Linked DNA regions of Homo sapiens: region 2 is linked to region 1. Evidence: promoter capture Hi-C in human tissues and cell types (Jung and others, 2019). All regions are on one chromosome and are shown on one strand. The core of a region is centred on a gene start or on the middle of the fragment in contact, and the rest is flanking DNA. Distances in the headings are between cores, read along the strand shown.

Region 1 (6,207 bases), core at 678-3,177:
ACATCGTGTTCTGAGATTTAAGAAAATGTCTGGTCTTCCTTTTCGCATAATTTAAAAGACTCTTCATGCACATTTGGTAGTAGATACATTTTAGAAAACATAGGTCCTAAGTACCACCTGATCTTTCAAGCATTCCAGTTGACTGGCTCATAAATTATGAAACCTATGATTTTACTTCTTTTCTACAGATATCCTTTATAGTGAATACTTATGAAATACCCCCACTGAGCTGAAATGACAAATCTTTATTTTAAAATTGTCTATTTAAAACGTGATTAGACTGAGTCGAAGTGAGCGGTGAAGTATAATCAAGTACATTTAATGACTGACAGAGGACACTGTTTTGTGCTTCCAAAGTAATTACACTGATTCCAGAGACTGTAGAAAAAAAAACCTATTTCTGATCTTTTTTCTACTACATACACGTAATGATTGTTGTAATTTGTTAGTATCTGAAGTTTCATTTCCCTTTTACAAAATACAAATTATCACTATAAGGGTAAGATGAATAAAGGTAAAAGGCATTTGCTGATTACAAATGCCTTTCAATGTTTTAATGTCACAAATTAGAGTGTAACCGGGATTGAGATTGTGAACGTCAATGCTTGTCCTAAAAGTTTCCTCCAACTTGCTGAAACTGGATTCCCAAGCATTATCAATTGAGGGTGCAGAGCATGTAACCCAACTTAGCCTCTCCAATAAGTGGAGAATGAGGTGCTGACGAGGAGTTACTTTGGGAGGCTTTTGAGAGCACAATTGAGAAAACATATTTGAGGACACTGCTATGTTCTTAATAAAGTCATTCATTTCAATACCTTTTATTCCTCAAATATTTGCACTCACATTTGTGAAAATCTTAACTTTTCACCATGCTTCAACATTTGGTGAAAAAATAAACAGCAAATAAGATTTTTTTTTCTCAATCCGATCTCCCTGGCTGTTTACTTATAGAGTACTGTAGTTGAAAGTAAGTCGTTCTCAGAAACAACTCAGTCTTTAGCCTCACTTCTAGGTGCGTCCCCAATCTCCGTGCAACTGGACAACTGTATAAATGTGTCCATAACGAAGAAACAGAAAACAGGGAAGTATTAATTTATACTTATGACTTCCGAACAGATGAAATCCTTGTTTAAAAACACCTCTCGGCCAGGTGTGGTGGCTCACGCCTGTAATCCCAGCGCTTTGCGAGGCTAATGCGTTAGGATGGCTCGAGGCAAGGAGTTTGAGTCCAGCCTGGGCAACATAGTAAGACCCTGTCTCAAAAACAACACAGAAAAAACCTCTTACAAGAGCACTTAAGCGGGTGTTAACTAACGTGATCACGGTCTGTAAACGATTCCTAGGTTGTTCCTATGGTTACATAATCTGCAGCAAGGGCGGTGGAGGAGAAGGCAGAGGGTTGGCCGCTGGGACCCCGGCAGGGCACAGCGCACATAGCAAGGTCGCATTCTGAGCGAGTGGGACGCAGCTCGGCCCGCGGGCCTGTGCAAGCTCACAGGACACGCGGGAGGCCGAGGCCTGCGGAGGGCGCGGAGCAACAGGCGCGCCGCGCCGGACGGCTGGGGCAGCAGTCTAAGGTCACTGCAAGACCAGCGTCCCAAGGCTGTTGCCGGGGAAGGGCAGTACCTGCCACGCGGAGCCGGTCGGGCCCGCAAAGCTGCGCCGCTCGGCTCCTTCCAATCAGGTTGGCTCGGCGGCCGCAGGCAGCAACGGGAGGACCCACAGAGGTCACGTCCAAGGCCAGGGCACACAGCGTCCGCCGGGGAAGTCTCATCGCGCGGGGCAGGAGGCAGGGTAAACTGCGCAGGCATTCCATGGTGCTGGAGCAAGAAGCAGGCAGCAGCCAGACCCCAGACCTTCATGCCGGACGCTGGCTGCTCAGGCCGCAGCTCTGACCTGTCGCTACCGCCCGACCTGCAGACTCTGTGCACCAGGCATGCGCGGGGCGTGCCGCGCCTGCGTGCTACTTCCCCACGCATGCTCGGAAGGTACCTGTGGGCGAGCCTGTTAAGTCCACAGCCAATAGACGTTTGCTTGCCTACCTGTACCTGCACCTGTACCTAAGTGAGGGGGCAGGCGGGCTGGGAGATGGGTGGAGCACGTTTACCTGCACTAAGTGAGCTGTCCAACCTAGGTTCTTGGGCGCTTGGAGTGTCATGGTTTTGTAGTTTGTGGAGAATTTTCATACCTATGAAAATTGCAGTTTGGAAATGAGCAGGTTACCCATTCCCACATCATTTAATTTATATTTAAATTTAACGTGGTGTAGGGAGCAAGAGGGAAAGCTCCTACTTTTGCCCTCTGAAAGTTGCTGGAATGAACTAAGTAGACAGATTAGCAGGAGAAAAAGGCATACAAAATTTGCTTAACGTGCATAGGGAAAAATCACAGAAGAGTGATTACTCAATAACTCAATTAAGGTCCAGATGCTTGTATACCCTTCTTTGTTGAGTAGAGGGAGATAGGTATGAATGGGCCCGAAAGCCAGACAGTGGTTTGCAAATGATTCTCCTTGGACATTCAGTGGGACAGAAGTACAAACAATCGCTTGTGGACAAGCTGTGAAACTTCACTCTGAACAAAAATTGTCCTATTATACAGGTAAAGTTTCCCAGGTAATCTCTTGGAGCTACCCTCAGAAGTATCTATGAAAAGTCTCAGTGTGGCTATGACTTTCAGTTTTTGTCTCTTCTCTGGGTGATTAATCTCTTCTGATTATTTAATGCGATTCCTAAGGAACGGGTTTTAAGACAATTGCATTTCTTTGGAAAAGAGTTTTCTCTGTCAGATAAGGAAATTCCTTATCTGGCTGTGCAGGAAAAGAGAGCCCCTTCAGGTGCTTGGAAAAAGTAAGAGTATCAGAGAGACAAAAGGAAGGGGGAAGGTGAGAGAGAGAGGCCTTGATTTTTAGGCTTCTTTCTGAGACCCTTTTAATTTCCTTTAATTCAAAGACTCAACATGCCACCGGGCGTGGTGCCTCATGCCTGTAATCCAGCACTTTGGGAGCCAAGCACTTTGGGAGGCCAATGTTGTGGACCACTTGAGGTTAGGAGTTCAGGACCAGCCTGGCCAACATGGCAAAACCCGTCTCTACTAAAAATACAAAAATTAGCCGGGTGTGGTTGCAGGTGCCTGTAATCCCAGCTACTTGTAAGGCTGAGGCATAAGAATTGCTGGAATCCAGGAGGTGGAGGTTGCAGCGAGCCCAGATCATGCCATTGCATTCCAGCCTGTACTGCATTCCAGCCTGTACGACAGAGTGAGACTCCCATCTCAAAACAAACAAACCCCAAAGACTCAGCATGCCAAAACATCATATTTTGGGGTATTATGGTTTGAGCCCCAGTAGTGGCAAAAATAATCAACTGTCATATGGAATGATGTCATGTATTAAACTTTTGCTATAAAGAATGAGGAGCACAGACACATAAGATTTCTATTCCATATTTAATAAAATGTAAGATAGCATCAATTTTAAGGTACCATTATTTTATGTACCACCAAGAAAGAAAAAAAAACTGATAAGTTATGCTTTCTAAACATGTAGATTGAAAGACATATCTCAATTCCAGTCTTTAAAATATGAAAAAAGTCTTAGGTTAAATACAGTATGTATGCATATTTTAAAAATATGAGTTAATAAATTTATTGTCCCTTCCACAGTAGTAATACAAGGCAGACACAAGTTCCACAGACTTCCTTTCAATATCTATGTATGGACACAAAGCTAAGGAGACAGAGATAGAAACATTTTATTCTGCAGGGTACTGGGACTGGGGATGGAGTAGGAGGGCAGTGCACAAAGAGAAGCCTTCACAGAAGAGAGGATGTTTGACTTGATAATGTGGGGAAAAGAAAGAGAGATCAGATTGTTACTGTGTCTGTGTAGAAAGAAGTAGACATAAGAGACTCCATTTTGTTCTGTACTAAGAACAATTCTTCTGCCTTGAGATGCTGTTAATCTGTAACCCTACCCCCAACCCTGTGCTCCCTGAAACATGTGCTATGTCACCTCAGAGTTAAATGATTAAGGGCTGTGCAGGATGTGCTTTGTTAAACAAATGCTCGAAGGCAGCATGCTTGTTAAGAGTCATCACCACTCCCTAATCTCAAGTACCCAGAGACACAAAACACTGCAGAAGGTCGCAGGGACCTCTGCCTGGGAAAGCCAGGTATTGTCCAAGGTTTCTCCCCATGTGATAGTCTGAAATATGGCCTCGTGGGAGGGGAAAGACCTGACCGTCCCCCAGCCCGACACCCGTAAAGGGTCTGTGCTGAGGAGGATTAGTGAAAGAGGAAGGAACGCCTCTTTGCATTTGAGATAAGAGTAAGGCATCTGTCTCCTGCTTGTCCCTGGGCAATGGAATGTCTCAGTGTAAAGCCCGATTGTATATTCCATCTACTGAGATAGGGGAAAACCGCCGTAGGGCTGGAGGTGGGACATGCTGGCAGCAATACTGCTCTTTAAGGCATTGAGATGTTTATGTATATGCACATCAAAAGCACAGCACTTTTTTCTTTACCTTGTTTATGATGCAGAGACATTTGTTCACGTGTTTACCTGCTGACCTTCTCTCCACTATCATCCTATTGTCCTGCCACATCCCCCTCTCCAGGAAACACCTGATAATGATCAATAAATACTAGGGGAACTCAGAGGCCGGTGCCGGCGCGGGTCCTCTGTATGCTGAGCGCCAGTCCCCCGGGCCCATTTTTCTTTCTCTATACTTTGTCTGTGTGTCTCTTTCTTTTCCAAGTCTCTCATTCTACCTGATGAGAAATGCCCACAGGTGTGGAGGGGCAGCCCAACCCTTCAGATAATTGAAGGCAAAGAAAAACTTTAATCATTGCTTCCAGGGCGTTGAAGTCTGGAAAATCGCTGAGTATAGAGAACATGGCTGGTAGATTTTTCATTTTACTAAAGCTTTAATGATGAGATAAGTATTTCAAACATATTACATGCCTTCAGAGATGCTTCTTTGAGAAAATATGTGATAACTTTCTCTTTAAAACAAAATTTGCACCCAGCACAATGAGACAGCTCTAAGATAACTTTTGCAAAGTCTAAGGAAAACTCTGGAACCTGTCCAGACGTACAGCCTCGTAATTCGTGGCAAAGATTTTTCTGAGAAGGGTGGGAACCATTGGAGGACTTCGAGCAGAGAGGTAATGAGCAGAGGTAACAATCTGATTTATGTTTAAATGGGTCACTCTTGCTGTGTGGGAAAGAGACTACAGAGAGGCAATTGGAAGCAGAGAGATGGTGATGATGGTTTGGGCTAAGGTGGGGATGGTGGAGAGGGGAAGATGAGTTGGGCTTGGTACCATATATTGAAGGCTGAGTTGACAACATTTGCAGATGGGATATAAGAGAAAGAGAGGCATAGATGTTGCTCCAAAATGTGTATCCCGAACAGCAGGGCCTTGCTGGTGCTATTTACTGAGATAGGGAATTTTGGAAAGGAGCAGTTTTTTTTTTGTTTGTTTTGTTTTTTGTGACGAAGTCTCGCTCTGTCGCCCAGACTGGAGTGCAGTGGTGTGATCTCTGCTCACTGCAAGCTCCGCCTCCCGGGTTCACGCCATTCTCCTGCCTCAGCCTCCCAAGTAGCTGGGACTACAGGCGCCTGACACCACGCCCAGCTAATTTTTTGTATTTTTAGCAGAGATGGGGTTTCACCGTGTTAGCCAGGATGGTCTCGATCTCCTGACCTTGTGATCCACCCGCATTGGCCTCCCAAAGTGCTGGGATTACAGGCGTGAGCCACCATGCCTGGCCAGAAAGGAGAAGTTTTTAATTGAAAACTGTGGCTCAAACCTGTAATCCCAGCACTTTGGGAAGCCAAGGTGTGCGGATCACCTGAGGTTGGGAGATCGAGACCAGCCTGACCAACGTGGAGAAACCCCATCTCTACTAAAAATACGAAATTAGCTGGCTGTGGCGGTGCATGTCTGTAATCCCAGCTACTGAGGGGGCCGAGGCAGGAGAATCACTTGAACCCGGAGGTGGAGGGTGCGGTGAGCCAAGATCGCACTATTGCACTCCAGCCTGGGCAACAAGAGTGAAACTCCCGTCTCAACAACAACAACAAGAACAACAACAAAAACAAGAACAACAAAAACTATGGCATGGCATTTGGTTTTGAATGTTAACTTCGAGAGATGTCCTAGACAGATATCTGAGTGTAGATGTCAAGTAAGCAGCCTGGA
Region 2 (6,207 bases), core at 1,051-3,550, 61 kb after region 1:
TAAATGTTCCTACTACAAAAAGTGATAAATATGTGAGGTGATAGATATGTTAACTAGCTTGATTTAATCATCCCACAGCGTGCCCATATATCAAAAAATTATGTTGTACTCCATAAATACATACAATTTTGTCAATTAAAAATAAATAAAATACCACTTAGTTGAAATATCAAACTATTCTCAATACAGATTTTCTTTTAAATTCTGACCAAAATAAGATCCTTTTGGCAATTGAACAGCAACACCTATTGAACTGAGAGGAGCTTGTTCTTATATTGCATGAGATTCAGAAATACAGAAGGTGAAATTTAGGACTGTGTAGTACAGTGCATGATCTGAAATTCTGCCAAGGTATATCAAGCTTTTGGTTGATGGCAGTTTAGATACTTGTGCACTTGTGAGAAAATCAATGTTTAGATTTATATTTCAGGATAATTATTAGAATGAGCTTATTGAGTTTTCTGGTGAAATCAGAGGAACTCGTCTTGATGAAAGTATATTTCCATATGGTATAAATAATAGAAAAATGTGTCTAAATCAATAGTAATGTCTAGCCAGGGAAGACAAATAAATTGTATTCAACTTTTTATTGAATGCTGCTCATGCATGATTTTACATTTCCTCAAGAATATTTAGGCGGGGCACGGTGGCTGACGCCTGTAATCCCAGCACTTTGGGAGGCCGAGGTGGGTGGATCACGAAGTCAGGAGATCGAGACCATCCTGGCTAACACGGTGAAACCCGTCTCTACTAAAAAAAACACAAAAAATTAGCTGGGCATGGTGGCAGACGCCTGTAATCTCTGCCACGCCGGAGGCTGAGGCAGGAGAATGGTGTGAACCCGGGAGACGGAGCTTGCAGTGAGCTGAGATCACACCACTGCAGTATGGGCGACAGAAAGAGACTCTGTCTCAAAAAAAAAAAAAAAAAAAGAATATTTACCAAGAGCCAGGCAGTGGACTACATTCTAGGCCTGCAGATATAAAAAGACTCACGTGCCAATCAGAAATGACAACAAGGTAATTGTAGGAGGACTCTCTAAAGAGTTTTAAAAGGTAAGATACATGAAAAGAGTAAAAATGTTGGAAAGTAATATCAGAGATTATTAATCCAGGGGAAGAAAAGTATTATTTAGACCCAATTAATAATTGGCTTCAATACTTACAAAGAATGTGGTAATCAGCCCTCTACATCATAGCTGGGTAACAAAATGGGGGTAAAAAACATTAAGATATTGTGTGAAGATTGGTGAATTTGAGTTGGTTTGAAAGAAAACCCTTTTTTTTTTTTAATTGGAGACTACTAAAAACTTACTGAAGGAGAAAGAGTGATACCTGCTTTCTATCTATTTTAAATAGAAATACATTCTTCTGACTTGCACATTTCGGTTGTATGCCAAGATGGCAGAGGTGAATTGAGGCTTATTTAAATTTCAAAATGCGCTCTAATCTAAGGTTTTCGGGGTCAGAGCCTTCCTGTGGAAGCCCAGAAGGAGCGCTGCCCAGCTGCCACACTCCACGGAGAAGTGGCTGGTGCAAGAAGACTGCCGGAGTGACTGGCAGCAGTCCGTATTGACACCTCCTGTCTTGATTTCCTGTTTCAGAGAGTTCTTCCATGCAAATAAACATGCGATGCTGTGATTTTCTGACTTACAGTCAATATTGTTTAAGCAAAAAAGTAACACAATTTGAAGCAACACTGTGAAAGTAAAGGGTTTGAGGAATATTCCTGTTTTGCCGTATGGTTTTCATATTTAGAACTGAAGGTAGCATAGCACCCTGGACGGACATAGCAACCACCTAAAGAGATGTTTCAGTTTTCCCCCACTAACTGTATGTCCAGCAAAGATGCATTAAAGGAATAAGGGAAGTAAAGCCCAAAGGAGTCAGTAATAAGAAACCAGTATATGAAGTCATCTGTGAGGATGCTTTCACATTTGATTAGGATATAGAAACTTATTGGGTTAAACACTTTAAATTTTATTTCTCTTTAATGTAGAACAAATTCTCTGTGTGTTTGTGTGTGTGTGTGTGTGTACGCGTGCACACATGCGTGCGCCCTCTTACATGTCTGATTGTTGGGGAAGTATTTTTGGATTTTGGGAAACTTTGTTTCAAAGATCTAGAGCAGCAATAAATCTTTGGACTTTTCTTGGAAGGGTAGTTTGGTGAGAACACTGTGCTAATGAGGCCAAGGACTTGGGCTTGAATCCCACTCTTAGATCTACTAGGTCCCTGGCCCCAGACTGTTCCCTAAATAACCAGCTGTCCTCTCAAATGTGGTACTGGTTAAGGTTTGTGGGAAAGTATACATGTAATTCAGCCTACATCTATGACCGAACTCAGAAAACAACTAAAAAGGTCCATGTCTCGAAAGTAGGAGGCTAATAGTCCTATCTTTATGTGTAAAATAAAATAAGTTTCAGTATAGTTCAAAACAGATGGATGGAGGCATTTTTTTTTTTTAAAAAAAGGTAGGTCTCTATTTGCACTTGGCTGATTTCAGCAGGAAATATGCAGGCAGTATGCCCTAGTGTCTAGCTTGGTCAACAATGAAAATTCCCATGTATCATTGTGAAAGCCTCCTTTATAAGCAGCCAGCCAGATCAAACTCAGATGTCATCCCATGATTACATAGTTTGGATGTTTGGTTTGTTGAAATAAAGTTGATTTCAGCCCACCTCTTAGCTGGGGGTAGAACTTTTAAGTGGTGAAGGATCGTGGGAGAGAGACAAATAAATTGACTTTTTATATTTGCAGTGTCTAATGTTTAACCTGGAACTGTTCTCTCTAGGAAATCTCAAATGGCAATCTCTGCTGCTTTGTATTTTTTCCCTCTTTCTAGCAGTGAGTATGTTTGTGTTTCAAAGATCTGTGAACCTCTATGGCCATCTTTGCTATTTCAAATTACATAGCCATATGTAACTGGGCTGCCAACTTTTAGAAATTTTTAGATAATGGCCAGGTTCCATGGCTCACGCCTGTCATCCCAGCACTTTGGGAGGCCAAGGCAGGTGGATCGTTTGAGGTCAGGAGTTTGAGACCAGCCTGGCCAACATGATGAAACCCTATCTCTACCAAAAATGCAAAAATTAGCCAGGCATAGTGGTACGTGCCTGTAGTCCCAGCTACTCGGGAGGCTGAGGTAGGAGAATTGCTTGAGCCGGGGAGGTGGAGGTTGCGGTGAGCCAAGATCCTGCCACTGCACTCCAGTCTGGGCGACAGAGTGAGACATTGTCTCAAAAAAACAAAATTTTTTTTTTAGAAAATAAGTCATCTAATATCATTCAAGTTGCATTTTGTTAATTATATTCTAAGTGATAAAACTCCATATTCATGGCTTGTTTTCTTAGAAACGAGTGGATAACTAGATTTCCAGTATTACAAATTTTGCATTAGCTAGTTTTAGATCTTCCATGCTAGTTTTTAAAAGCTGGATTAAAAAAAGAAGTGTCAATTAAAAATATTTTTACTACAGCAAATACATTCTGTTAGTATGGCTTTTGCAAATGCATAGCTTGTTTTGCATGAAGGCTCAACTGACTAATATTTAATTTAGTCAAATAGTATATGAAAATTGAATTAAATTGCCCTTCCGCTAGCCGGTACTTCTTCTAATCAGATTGCTATTCCCTTGTGTTATTTCTATTTTAATTAATTTTATCAATAATATTGATTAACTTTGACTTTCCTCACCTATTAGGCTACCATAAGCCAGGGGAATCCTCAGAAGCTTCCTGGAAGGAATGATGTATACATTGTGACCTAAAGGGAATGAGTATGTTCACCAGGCAAACAGAAGGAGGAAGAGCATTGCAGGCAAAGGAGATGGCATGTGTGAACGTCTGCAGATGAGAGAGCACAGGGCACATTCATCTACATGTTCATCTCTGCATGAACATGTATATAATGCAATCCAAGCAATGTGATTGTCTACTGGGAATTTTCAGCATTTTTACTTAGTGACTCTTATTTATTCCGAAACTCTATTCCTCTCCACCGCTTCACCAATTCATTTCCTTATGTATAATCATATTCAAATGATAATTTTCCATCTCTTTAGGAATTCCCTTTGCTCTCTCTATCTTATAGCATCAAGTTAGTGGATCAATTTTGATGTGTGCATCAAATTTGGTGTCAAAAGACCCATCCAACACTTATTATAAATATATCCATTCATAGACAATCTTGGTTAGATGTCCACATTTTAACCTGTAACAATGTTAGTTTAGCTTGTGTGTCCCAGGCACCATGTAATTACTCTGAGTACACAGACAGAATTATAAAATCATAATGGCACTCTCCTAGTACTCCATCAAAGTGATCCTAAAGGATTACAAAGATGGTTTTGTTGGCAGCAATTGGAGAAGAGGAGTCTGCAGATGAATTGATCTATGGTCTCTGCTATTATTTTAAGCCTTCTTTCATGTGGGAGGGTTTGGACCCCAAGGGAATGACACTAGTCACAAATTTATGGCTCTCACGTTTTGGTGGTAAAAAATTAACATCACAAATTCTTTCATCAAAAAAATGATATGAGCACCAGTTTATGTGCCAGGCATTATGTTAGTTGGATTTGCAATGGTGAATATATCAGACAAGGCAAGCTTTCCTGAAGCTGGCTGTGTAGTGGAGAAGATGGGGCCGTACGCAAGCTATCCGAAGTGTGCTGTGTGGGAGGATACAGGCGGCACAGGCTGCTGGAAGGATGGCTACCATAAGCCAGGGGAATCCTCAGAAGCTTCCTGGAAGAAATGATATATACGTTGTGACCTAAAGGGAATGAGTATGTTCACCAGGCAAGCAGAAGGAGGAAGAGCATTGCAGGCAAAGGAGATGACATGTGTGAATGTCTGCAGATGAGAGAGCACAGGGTACATTTGAGAAACATACATGTGCTGTTTGGCTGAATCACGGGAAGAGGTTGGGATAGAAGGTTGGGAATGGAACTATGTGAGAGATAAGGCATGGGAGGTAGAGAGGTACCAACATCAGGGGTTTTAAAAAGTAATTTATCTTTTTCCTAAAACCAACCAAAAGCTGCTGGGCATGGTGGCTCACACTTGTAATCCCAGCACTTTGGGAGGCTGAGGTGGGCGGATCACCTGAGGTCAGGAGTTTGAGACCAGCCTGGCCAACATGGTGAAACCCCCTCTACTAAAAATACAAAAATTAGCTGGGCGTGGTGGTGTGTGCCTGTAATCCCAGCTACTTGGGAGGCTGAGTCAGGAGAATCACTTGAACCTGGGAAGCAGAGGTTTGCAGTGAGCTGGGATCACACCATTGCACTCTAGCCTGGGCAACAGGAGTGAAATTCTGTCTCAAATTAAATAAATAAAACCAACCAAAAGCTATTGAAGGGATTTCATCAGGGAATTGACACAATGACTCTTATTGCTACAGCAAGGTTGGAGGCCAGGCGACCATGTGTTGGAGGTAAATGTGCCACTCATGATGGGAGAGGCTGTTGAGATGGTGGAAGGATTAGATTTGAGAAACAGAGCTTAGTGATTGAGTGGATGTGGGGTAATGAAGAAAGATTAGCTGGATGATTTTTGAGTTTCTGGCCTGGGCTACTGGATAGATGGCATTCCCTTTCGTGAAGACAGGGAATACAGTTGTTGTTTTTTTTTAATGGCGGTGACAGGCAGAGATATTTGAAGCATTAACTTTTGAATATTGAGCCAGCCTAAATGTTAGAAGATGCACAAAACTGGAACTCACTGTGAGTGTTTGTGCATGTGCACATGTGTGTGTATGTATTTCTTTGATATGTGTTTAGTCAGTGTTGTTCTAAGTACTTTACAAAGATGATATAATCCTCACAACAACCTTATGAAGTAGGGATTGTTATTATTCTGATTTTACATGGGAGGAAATTGATAATGAAAACATGTTTCTCAAGAGCTCACAGATGAGGGACTGTGTGTTCATGTATTGTGTGTTAATGCAGAAGGAAGCGTTTCCTAAGAATTAATGCAATTTAATTAAAAGATGATCATTCAGTGTCTTTTTGCACTTGAAAGGATGTTTGTGGGAGTGAAGGGTTTTAAAATTTTTTAATACCTTGATTTAATGATGATAAGAAGGATAAAATATATAAGAAAGACTAAAGAATTAGGAAGTGAATCCAGAAAAGGGATAAAATATTCTTTCAATTTCCTTAATAGTCTTTTTTTTTTTTTTTGAGACGGAGTCTTGCTCTATG

What was found. The method cuts DNA at HindIII sites, captures the fragments that hold promoters and counts their contacts. A contact is called where the count stands out against the background at its distance.
Region 2: a fragment that was not itself captured here is called in contact with the fragment with the promoter of MRS2 in region 1 in 1 of the 25 tissues and cell types used here (liver).

Annotation. Positions count from the first base shown.
Region 1 is chr6:24,398,656-24,404,862 of GRCh38, reverse strand. MRS2 (magnesium transporter MRS2) reads right to left here and starts at 1,927. Exons shown (of 11, transcript NM_020662.4): 1 at 1,627-1,927. The coding sequence starts at 1,816. RefSeq lists enhancers at 556-1,290, 3,499-4,234, 4,235-4,970 and silencers at 3,048-3,342, 4,228-4,522. The HindIII fragment of the contact is 9,320 bases long and covers 1-6,011 here.
Region 2 is chr6:24,337,777-24,343,983 of GRCh38, reverse strand. All of the region lies in intron 2 of DCDC2 (doublecortin domain containing 2), which reads left to right. Among named protein-coding and RNA genes, the nearest start is that of KAAG1, 16 kb to the left of the region's middle. The HindIII fragment of the contact is 4,746 bases long and covers 1-4,673 here.